Linked DNA regions of Homo sapiens: all the other regions are linked to region 3. Evidence: promoter capture Hi-C in 16 types of primary human blood cells and fetal thymus (Javierre and others, 2016). All regions are on one chromosome and are shown on one strand. Each heading gives the region's core, a stretch centred on a gene start or on the middle of the fragment in contact. The rest is flanking DNA. Distances are from core to core; before and after follow the strand shown. Region 1 has its middle 6.1 kb from the start of FDX1. Region 2 overlaps FDX1 (ferredoxin 1). Region 3 holds the start of PPP2R1B (protein phosphatase 2 scaffold subunit Abeta).

Region 1 (3,791 bases), core at 1,172-3,671, 1.3 Mb before region 3:
TGATATTTCTCCTATTTGCTTTTGAAAGAAGAGAAATATGGCTCTGTTCTGCCCAGCCCACAGGCAGCCAGACTTTAAGGTTATCTCCCTTGTTCCCTGAACATTGCTGTTATCCTGTTCTTAAGGTGCCCAGATTTGATATTGTTCAAACACACATGCTCTACAAACAATTTGTGCAGTTAAGGCAATTATCACAGGGTCCTGAGGCGACATACATCCTCCTCAGTTTACAAAGATGACAGGATTAAGAGATTAAAGACAGGCATAGGAAATAATAAGAGTATTGATTGGGGAAGTGATAAATGCCCATGAAATCTTCACAATTTATGTTCAGAGACTGCAGTAAAGACAGGCATAAGAAATTATAAAAGTATTAATTTGGGGAGCTAATAAATGTCCATGAAATCTTCACAATTTATGTTCTTCTGCCATGGCTTCAGCTGGTCCCTCCATTCGGGGTCCCTGACTTCCCACGACACATACCCTTCTATCAGCTCTACCTACCACCAGTCAGTATTTCTCAGTTGTGGATCTCTGCAGTGCTTTCTTTAGTACTCCTGTACATCTGGACAGCCAGTATTTGTTTGCCTTTACTTGGAAAAAATGGCAATATATGTGGACTGTAATCCCCCAAGAGTATACAGAAAGTCCTGTTTACTGTTCCCAAATATTAAAAGTTGATTTAGAGGATTAATTTTTCCCCAGGGCTCAACACTCATCCAGTATGTGGATGACCTTCTCCTTTGCTCAGACATACTCTCTTCCTCTCTGGAAGATAGTCTATATTTAGTCAGCCACCAAGGGACACAAAGTGTCTAAAGACAAACTGCAGCTATGCTTACTGCAACTTAAGTATTTGGGGCATATTATCTCAGTCAAAGGACTGAATATTAACCCTGATAGAGTGAGAGGAATTTTAGCTTTCCCAATGCCCACCACCAGGAAACAACTTAGAGGACTTTTGGGCCTGGCAGGCTATTGTAGAAACTGGATACCAAATTTCTCCCTTATACCTCAACCTCTGTATGCGTACCTAAAAATTGAACAACCTGATCCCATCATGTGGACTCCAGAGGGAAAATCAGATGTACAACAGATAAAGGAAATTCTAATGCCCCAGTCTTAGGGCACCCAAACTACAAATTGCCTTTCTCCCTTTTCATACGTGAATTCAGAGGTACTGCATCTAGGGTACTGACCCAGAAACTTGATGATCAGCAGAGACCTAGAGGCTATCATAGCCAACAGCTGGACCCTGTGGCTCAAGGGCTGCCTCCTTGTGTGAGAGCAATAGCAACCATGGCCCTTCTGTAAAAGTCTGTTGAAGAAACAAATATGGGTTCCCCCTTTAACATTTTTGTGCTGCATTCTCTTGAAACCCTTCTAAACTCTCATCATACTCAACATCTCTCTGTCAACTGGTTAGCCTCTTATGAAATTATTCTTTTATCATCTCCCAATATTACCATTTCCCACTGTAATAATCTTAACCTGGCCACTCTTGCTGGGCCCTTCCAACAAAACCCGTCATGACTGTGTTCTGGTAACTGACCTATTTCTCACACCCAGGACAGCCCTACAAGAGATGCCACTGGATAATGCTGAGACAGAATGGTATACAGATGGGTCTTATTTAAGAGGAAAGAATGGAAATTTTAGACCAGGATATGCTGTGGTTTCCTTACTAGAGGTAATTGAAGCCAGTCCTCTTCCCCAAGCCAGATCAGCTCAAGTGGCCAAATTGATTGTCCTGATCTGAACTTGTCAATTAGCAAAAGACAAGGCTGCAAACATTTATACTGACAGTGCTAGGCTTCTGGGGTTGCATATGACTTTGTGAGGCTATGGAAAGAGAGAGGATATTTTAACTTCCTCAGGGCAACTCATAAAAAATGGACAACAAGTATCAGAGCTGTTAGAAGCTATTCTAAAACCAAAACGTTGGCAGCTATAAAAATCCCAGGTCACTGTCAGACACCACAGAAAGTCGGGGTAACCAACTGGCTGATATCACAGTTAAAAGGGTAGCATTTGATCCACCAGCCCCAATTTGGGAAATGGCCATAAAACCTGAAACACTTAAAAACATGTTGAAAGAAACCCAGAACATAGCTCCTACAAAAGAGAAATCTACTTGGAAACAGGCAGGGGGATTTTTGTCTCCCGAAACTGAAATATGGTGTGGACCTAATAATAAACCCATTATTCCAATAGGATGTCAGGTGTCCCTTATGGAATATGTTCACAACCTAACCCACTGGAATCCTGATAAAATTATATCCTGGTATAAACAATATTACTGGAAACCATCCTTCACAGTGGCACAAAAAGCTTACTCTTGATGTGCTATTTGTCCCAAATATAATCCAGGAAAACCCCTCCATGGGGCCCAGGGTCATTTTCCCCTTCCGGCCAGACCTTTTGAGGTGTGGCAGCATGATTTTATCCAGCTGCCATCATCTGAAGGTTATCAGTGTTTTAGTAATGGTCTGCATGTTTTCCTATTGGGTTGAAGCTTTTCCCTGCAGGCAAGCAACAGCCACGTCAGTTGGAAAAATCCTACTAAAAAAAATGACTCCACTATGGGGAGTCCCCTGTGAACTTCGCAGTGATAGGGGAACTCACTTTACTGGCCAGATTTTTCAAAATATTTGTACAGTTTGGCCATATTTCAACATTTTCAGGGTGCCTACCATCCCCAGTCCTCAGGCCTGGTGGAGAGGACCAATGGAATAATTAAAACACAATTGGCTAAGTTCACAGAGGCATTTCACCTCCCCTGGCCCAAAGCACTCGCCCTAGTGCTGATTATACTGCAATCCACCCTTCTTGGAAAACATCAACCGTCCCCTTATGAAATTATAACTGGAAGGCCCATATGTATGGGAATGAAAATAACTAATCCAACTTTTCTCAAGGGAGATATATCACAATATTGGGAGGGATTCATTTATCATCTTAAAAAAGCCAAGATTTGGTAAAGAATTCCTTTCACAGTGTGCTCCCTGAAGATAAGGTGCCTGGTCAAGATCTGCAGCCTGGAGATTTGGTCTATTGAAAAAGACATTTAATAAGGGATTCTCTTCAACCTCGATGGAAAGGCCCATACTAGGTACTATTAACTAATCTACGTGCCACAAAATTAGAGGGTATAGCCTCATGGATTCACATCTCTCATCTTAAAAAGACACAAACTCCTGAGTGGACTGTAACTCCTATCAAAGACCTTCACCTCCAGTTCACTAAACATTGACCTTCAACCCAGCATAGAAGCAGATGACAGCTGTGTGGACTGTTTAACCCCAAGACACAGGACAAGGCCTGTAAACAAAAGAATGCCTATGTTTATTGTATAATAACCATGACAATTATTGTCCCAGAGCTACTGGCAACTGCTGTCTTACAAAGAACAGGACACTTGCCTTGTCTGATTTAACATCCTTTTAGTAGCTAAATGAATTTTACAACCTTGCTATTATTGACCCTATATCCCTACACCTTCTTGCCATTTTCACCCACTGACTCCAGTGAAACAAACCTGTTTCTACAATAGGCTCAGGAGTATGCAGACAGATTACAAAAGGACACCTGCTGGATATACAGACTCATGCCTCTTTCCAGTGGCTCTGGCCTGCCATGGTAGGTATCCTCCTTCCAAGGTTAGGACCAAAAATTTATTATATCACAGAAATGGTCTGGTATTCTTAGTGCTGGCATAAGAGAACAAGGAAGATGGGAAAAGTTTTTCAATGGAAAGGACCAGCTCATTAGCTCTCACTTTAGCATCCCCC
Region 2 (3,831 bases), core at 658-3,157, 1.3 Mb before region 3:
CCTTAAATCCTTTCTAGATATTGATAAACTCTTAAATTTACATCCTTAGCTCAGACCTCTCCTCTGAGCCCTGATTTACAGATCTAACTTCTTGCTTTACATCACTTCTTGGAAATCTAACATATTTAAAACAGCTTTTGCCTTTTTTCCTCCTGATGAAACCTGTCCTTCCTCGAGTCTTTCCTACCTCAGTAATGAGCACCACCCGGCTGCTCGAACCTGAAACCGTAGAGCACCATTCCTTCCTCTTTCTTCCCAACCTGACATCCAGTCCATCGGCACCTCCTGCCAGTTGTGCCCCCAAGATTCGCCTCCAGCATGTCCTGTTGGCTCCATCCCTACAGTCGGCACGAGGGGCTGGCCAGCCACTGGGCGCCTGGAGCTGTGCTAACCTGCTTCTGCTCTGGAGTTTAACAGCCAGGTAATTTGTCCTAACAGAAATCAGACATGTCAGTCCCCTGATTAAAAGCCATGAGTGGGCCAGGCACAGTGGCTGACGCCTGTAATCCCTGCACTTTGGGAGGCCTAGGTGGGCAGATCACAAGGTCACGAGTTTGAGACCAGCCTGGGCAACATGGTGAAAACCCGTCTCTACTAAAAATACAAAAATTAGCCAGGTGTGGTGGCGTGCACCTGTAATTTCAGCTACTTGGGGAGGCCAAGGCAGGAGAATTGCTTTAACCCAGGAGTCAGAGGTTGCAGTGAGCTGAGATTGCACCATTGCACTCCAGCCTGGGTTACAGACTAAGACTCCATCTTGGAAAAAAAAAAAAAAAACCGAGATGGGCGGATCACGAGGTCAAGAGATTGAGACCATCCTGGCCAACATAATGAAACCCCGTCTCTACTAAAAATACAAAAAAAAAAAAAAAAAAAAAAAAAAAAAACCCAGCTGGGCATGGTGGTGCATGCCTGTAATCCCAGCTACTTGGGAGGCTGAGGCAGGAGAATTCCTCGAACCAGGGAGTCGGAGGTTGCAGTGAGCCGAGATTGCACCACTGTACTCCAGTCTGGCAGCAAAGTGAGACTCCTTCAAACAAACAAACAAAAAACCATGAGTGTCTTCCTTTGCACATAGGATAAAATCTGTATTCCCAGCCGTAAAAGGCTCTGCATTATCTGGCCCCATCTGCCACTCTTCCTCTTTTTTGTTTTTTTCTCATTGTTCTTTGTCTCACTTTGGTGATACTGGCCTTTTCTCAAGAGCTTGAACTCACCCAAAATTCCTACCTTTGAGACTTTGTATATACTTTACCCTCTCCCTGAGACACATCCCTCTCTCTCCCATCCCCAAAATTTAGCTTTTCATCTATCAAATCTCAATTTATGTACTTCCTTAGCGAGGCTTTGCCCAGCCACCCAGTCCAAAGTAGTGGTTCTCTTGTTACCCTGAACCCATTATTCTCTTTCTCAGCATCTTGTTCACTTGTTTTATAGTATTTGTCACAGTTTAGTAATTATGTATTTCTTGTGTATCTTTCCCAATAGACTGCGATGAGGGATAAAGTCATTCCTGTTTAATTCCTCATTGTATACGAAATGAAGTAATAAGTGAACACATGAATAAAAAGGGACAGTCATAAATTTTGGAAACAGTTCAAACTTATAAACATTCTCATTGCCAACTTTTATATTAATATAGATCTTTTGGATGATGCAGGTACCTGTTTTCAGAGTGTATCATAATATTCTGTCACTAGGGGGCAGTTACACACCTGAGATTCAACTTACCTAGTTTACTCTCAAGACATTTTTTTCTTCAATATTACCTGTTTTCTTCATGTGTCTGTTTTGAGGGAAATTATACAAATTGGAAGATCCTGATTGTGTTTGTATAAGTTTATTTGTATTCCCCTCATGCTTGAGTCCCTATTGATATAATGTATTTCTGACTATGCTAGATCAATCTTTAATCTAGAAAATTAGATTTTATATTTACACATAATTTCCATTTCTAATATATAATATTCCCACACAGCCATCCTCTAGATTTTTGTTTGGGAAAGGGGTTAGGTGTCGGGGCAGGCAATTGTATTGTCAGCATCGTAGTAGATAATACAAAATGATCTTAATATGAGATGCACACACACAAAATGTCTTTTCCCGTTGGCAAACACTCAAGTTACATGAAAGGAAAGGAGCAGAGCAGTCTGCAGAGATCTGACTTTCTCTAGGAATTAATTTCACAGCTACAACTTCTGAGGATTTGCCCAAGTACTTACTATCATTATTCCTGTTTTAAAAAAACAAAACTTGGTTCATGAGTTCACCAACCTTGAAATTAGTAAGCATGCTTTACTATTCTTCATGTCATTTTATATGCATATATTTGAAATTGTGCAGATTAACAGTATTGAGATTCTTACTCTAGCAAAATCAGAAGCATTGCAGAAACCAAAACTGTTGTCAGGAATCCTGTAATTTTAAGCTGGCAGGCTGTGTGAGTTGTAAATTTTACATTTGTTACTGCAGCTAAAGATGGACCATTTTAGCTAATAAACAAATCCCTGCCATCCTTTGTCAGCACCATGTGAACCATGCTGTTTATAGACATCTGAATATCTGTATGATTTTCTTGACTATGGTGATGATATTTTAAACTGTGGTTATAATTTAAAATCATTTTTAAAGCCTGTATCAGTTTCAGCCAAGCATTAAGTGCTAATACTGAAAAATGTATCTGAAAATGAGTTATTTTGGAATAGAGGTTAGATATAACAAAATGTTAGGAAGAAAGCCAAAAACCTGTCATGATACATACTACTGTTAATTTAGGAGAAAGCACTCTGAATTGTTAGCCAGTATGTAAACAAAATCAAAGCAGTACTAAAATGTATATACTTTTAAGTTCATGAAAATTGTTGTATAACCAAGCCAGGATGGTGGCTAAAATGCTAGCACCAGGGGCTAATATCAGTGTTGCTGTAAGGTGTTCCTAAATCAGGTTATTATCTGTGCTAAGGCATGAAGTATGTTATTATTATTAATTTTAATTGACAGATCATAATTGTATTTATGGGGTAGGTACAGTGTGATGTTTTGATACATGTATACAATGTGGAATGATTAACTTAAGCTAATAAACATATCCTTCACCTCACTTATTTTTTGTGATGAGACATCTGAAATTTACTGTTAGTAACTTTTGAAATACACAATACATTATTATTAACTGCAGTCACCATGCTGTTGCTATAGATTTTTTAAAATTAATTTTTTATAATATTTTGAGACAGAGTCTTACTCTGTCACTCAGGCTGGAGTGCAGTGGCATGATGTTGGCTCACTGCAGCCTCCACCTCCTGGGTTGAAGTGATTCTTGTGTCTCAGCCTTCCTAATAGCTGGGATTATAGGTGAGCACCACCACACCCAGCTAATTTTTGTATTTTTAGTAAAGATGGGGTTTCACCATGTTGGCCAGGCTGGTCTCGAATACCTGACCTCAAACAGTTTGCCTGCCTCGGCCTCCCAAAGTACTGGGATTACAGGCATGAGCCACTGTGCTCGGCCTGTGCTAGAGATCTTAAACACAAATTCCTCCTAACTGAAACTTTGTAGCCTTTGAACAGCACATGCTCATTTCATTTCCTTACCCCCACTCCCATCTGCTGGTAACTACCGTTGTATTTTCTAAGGCAGTGGCCCCCAACCTTTTTGGCACTAGGGACTGGTTTTGTGGAAGACAAATTTTCCATGGGCAAGGTTGGGGTGGGGATGGATTTGGGATGATTCAAGTGCATTACATTTATTGTGCACTTTATTTCTATTATTATTACACTGTATCATATAATGAAATAATTATACAACTCATCATAAGGTAGAATCAGTGG
Region 3 (3,728 bases), core at 1,166-3,665:
GTATTCAAAGCTCTGACACATACACCCCTACCTTGTCCAACTGTTGAATTCCTGGTCATCCTTTAAAACCTAGTTCAGACATCATCTCCCAAGGTCTTCCCTGATCACCCGGAGTGAATCCCTTTCTCCCTTCTATTACGTGGGTATTTTGTGGGTACTTATATCTTTCCATTTACGACTGCACGGTAATTATTTGCTGACACATAAAGGCAGTGACCTCATTAGATTCATTTTGGTGGTCTTTTTTTTTTTTTAAGAGATGGGGGTCTCACTATGTTGCCCAGGCTGGATTCAAACTCCTGGGCTCAAGTGATCCTCCAGTCTCAGCCTCCTGAGTAGCTGGTACTACAGGCTTGTGCCACCAAGCCCCCTCACATTGGTCTTCTTCAACATTAACATTGTAAACTATGATGTGTCTGATAAAGTAGACTCTCAATAAATGTCAATTAAATTGAACTAAATTCATCAAACTCACAAAGTCAGAAGCAAAAGTTAAACTGACAAAGACAAAATGCTGCTAGGTGAGAATTAAAACTTCCACCATCGCGCGGGGGAACCATAAAAACAATCAAACCCTTTTTCTCCCTACATCTAAACTAATAAGTCTACAGACGCAGAAAAGGAGGACGAAGTTCTCTTATTTACAGAAAAAAAAAAAAGGAGTTGAGTGCAAAGTGCCTACAGTACTTATTCTCTCAATGACTAACATTATGACTATCTGCCCATAAAAAGATCTGCATAAAAAATGCTGCAGTGTGTCTATCACCAAACAATGTATCATTTATACTGCAAAAGTTGTAGAAGGAGGGTAGGCAGCTTATAAATACTCACCAGCAGACAGTGGGCAAAGTCAGGACCTCCCACTAGGCCAGTGAAATTTCCCAGCTGCTCAGCAAGAGCTAATAGTACCTCATCTTCATCATAAATTGTATCTGGAAGTGACAACAACAGGACTCATCAACATGGATAGCTCTCCCACAGCTGGACACTGACACAAAACTAGGAACAGATTCACTATGCGACCAGGAAGGTGACCCAGTCAAAATCCTAACAGCATTTTCTTTCTTCTCAACCGTCTTCCTGTATCTGCTTTGCACAACGAATTAGAAATTCATACTCCCGTATCAATTACTTTCAATAGCTAAATGGTTGATGTTTGAATATATCTAGCCACAACTAACAATATACTCTGTTCTGTTTCTTTTGCACAAAAAACACCTGGCTCATTTTAATGTGGGTAATAAACTCTAAAAAAGTCAGTGTTGAAAGCTACTGGAAAATGGAATGTCCCTACCTTTCTTTAAACAAAGATTCACATACCTGTAAGAAATGGCAACAATTCACTTCGGGTCCTTTCTACTCCAAGTGCTAGGGCAATTGTTGATAACTTCTTAATACTGTTGAGTCGGAGCTTCAGAAAAGAAAGTAGAAAGAAGAACAATGTAAAGAAACGGCTGAATTTAGATCAAAAGACAAAAGGTGCTAACAGGTGAAATTATGACACAGGGGTAAGAATGAAGATAACCTTTCATTTAGATTTTACTGTTAAGGAAGCTCATAAGGACTTCCAAAAAGAAGTGTAACTCGGCCTCACTAGCCGGCGGAGGATTTCCCAGGAGAAACACTCAGAAGGGACCGGAAGAGAAATGAAGGAAAGACAATACAACACCTAGGAAGTAAGATAATTTTAAAAAGAGAGCACTTTGGCAGTGGTGAAGCAGGTGAAACGGTTGAATACAACACCTGTGGTTTCAAAGAAAAGTTCCCACAGAGCGGATACACTACTCGTCCAGATTAATCGGCCATCCCACCCCCGCTTTCTACCCAACAAGCCGAGCCAGTTCCAAGCCGAGATGAAGGGATCCAGGGGCACTTCAAAGGGCTTCTGGGCATCCTGCGCCCCTCAGCCGCTCCAGCCCCGTCTCGGCCTGGCACCGCGCTTCTCCTGCTCCCTCGCCCAAGAGACGCGGCCACCTCACGGCCCGGATGGGGCGCCCAGGCGGGAAGCGGGTTCCCCGACAACCGCCCGGGAAGGGCAAGGCTCCGGGCGGACGCCTCAGGGGGTCCGAAGCAAGGTTACTAGAGAGGTACCCGGGAGGGTCGGGGCGTGTCACCACAGCCCCTCGCGGAGCATTCCCCGCCTCCCCTTCAAGTTTCTGCTACGAGTCCGACTCATTCAGTACCTCGGCCACCCCCACCGCGACGCAGGCCTTCCCCCTTCTCTACCACGCGACCAGCCGGTCTCGCCTCGGGTCCCCGGCCTCAGTCCAGTACCTGCACGTCTTCATTGCGGAGCTCGTCGATTAAAACCGCGATCGGGTATAGCGAATCATCTCCATCTCCACCCGCTGCTCCTGGGCCGGTCCCGAGCTCTGATGCGCCCGCCATGTTCTTTCTCCTCCTGCTGCTGGTCACCGCCTCCCGCCCCGCGCCCAGGCCCCGCCCCGCGCCCAGGCAGTAGGGACGAAGGCCGCCACGCTGGTTTAGCCGAAGTTGGGGAGCCGCGTTTCTGTCCCGATGATTAAGGCTCCCTTCTGACCCCCACTGCAGGAGTTGTAGGTCTGAACTCAAGAAGACGGGTGGGCTAAGAAAGCGAATGGAACCCCTGCGTCCTTTCCCCAGCCGAAAGAAACAGGGACAGGGATTCATCCAGCTCGTTGTAGTCTGAAGGAGCCAGGAACCTACCTGAATGATCTGCGCTGTGCCCTCTTAAGACTCAGGCGGACCAAAGAGAGTGCCCGAGGCCAGGAGGAAAAAGGCTTTAGCACCTCCCCTGACTTCTTCCTGGCCCTGAGCCACTGGATCTCCAGCCCTAATTTCTCCGCTCAGACTCAAACTTCCACAGAACCCCTCCACCTCTTCCCGCGGCTCTTTCTCCAGAATGGTATCTGGCTCCTGCTCCGTAAGACAAATAACGCGGGCGGTGAGAGAAAATGAACAGTGCTGTCCAAACTCCCCAGTCAATATTTTTTCCACGCAAGCTGTTAAAAACATGCTGCTCTCTTGTTTTTGTGTTTCTTTTCAGTTTGGTACTGGAATGGTGCCTTCTGTTGTATTTTCTTCCTCCCATTTTTTAGCTCTTTAGCATGCTAGAAGTACAACAATGAAGCAAAACTAGGACAAGCTTTAATCCTTCCAAATTGGGTGGGGTGGCTACTTTCTTGAGCAAGAAAACCCAAACTGGCCTCCCTAGACCTCCAAGAGTCCTCAGAGGCAGCAAGGGGAAGAGGTGGAGGTCTGGGAGCTCGTTCTTACAAACCTGAATGGAAAGTTTTCACTTACCCCTGTCAGGGTAGCACAGAATAATTAGAATGTTTTGTTTGTTTTAGACTGGAATTTAAGCAGCTTGGAGTGATAACTACATATGGTGATCACAAGCTCCGAAATGGTAATTCTATGTGCCTGATTAATAAAACTATAAATGCAGTGTAGGAGACAAACTTTTTTAAAACATGGGATTCTGAGGCCGAGGCGGGCGGATCACTTGAGGCCAGGAGTTCGAGACCAGCCTGGCCAACTTGGTGAAACCCTGTCTCCACTAAAAAATACAAAAATTAGCTGGGCTGGTGACGGGAGCCTGTAGTCCCAGCTACTCGGGAGGCTGACATGAGAATCGCTTGAGCCCGGGAGGCAGAGGTTGCAGTGAGCCAGGATCGCACCACTGTACTCCAATCTGGGCGGCAGAGTGAGACCCCGTCTCTAAAATAAATAAATAAATAAATAGCGTT

The links. The method cuts DNA at HindIII sites, captures the fragments that hold promoters and counts their contacts. A CHiCAGO score of 5 or more calls a contact.
Region 1: a contact is called between a fragment that was not itself captured here and the fragment with the promoter of PPP2R1B in region 3, in 2 of 17 cell types (fetal thymus and activated CD4 T cells). The highest score is 8.5, in fetal thymus.
Region 2: a contact is called between a fragment that was not itself captured here and the fragment with the promoter of PPP2R1B in region 3, in 1 of 17 cell types (naive CD8 T cells). The highest score is 5.4, in naive CD8 T cells.

Annotation. Positions count from the first base shown.
Region 1 is chr11:110,421,959-110,425,749 of GRCh38, forward strand. No RefSeq gene overlaps it. Among named protein-coding and RNA genes, the nearest start is that of FDX1, 6.1 kb to the right of the region's middle. The HindIII fragment of the contact is 184 bases long and covers 2,330-2,513 here.
Region 2 is chr11:110,446,417-110,450,247 of GRCh38, forward strand. All of the region lies in intron 2 of FDX1 (ferredoxin 1), which reads left to right. Among named protein-coding and RNA genes, the nearest start is that of FDX1, 18 kb to the left of the region's middle. The HindIII fragment of the contact is 4,319 bases long and covers 1-3,831 here.
Region 3 is chr11:111,763,974-111,767,701 of GRCh38, forward strand. It overlaps PPP2R1B (protein phosphatase 2 scaffold subunit Abeta), which reads right to left and starts at 2,416. Exons shown (of 15, transcript NM_002716.5): 1 at 2,275-2,416; 2 at 1,321-1,411; 3 at 832-932. The coding sequence starts at 2,388. RefSeq lists enhancers at 1,442-2,345, 2,232-2,411, 2,432-2,481. The HindIII fragment of the contact is 3,920 bases long and covers 1-3,122 here.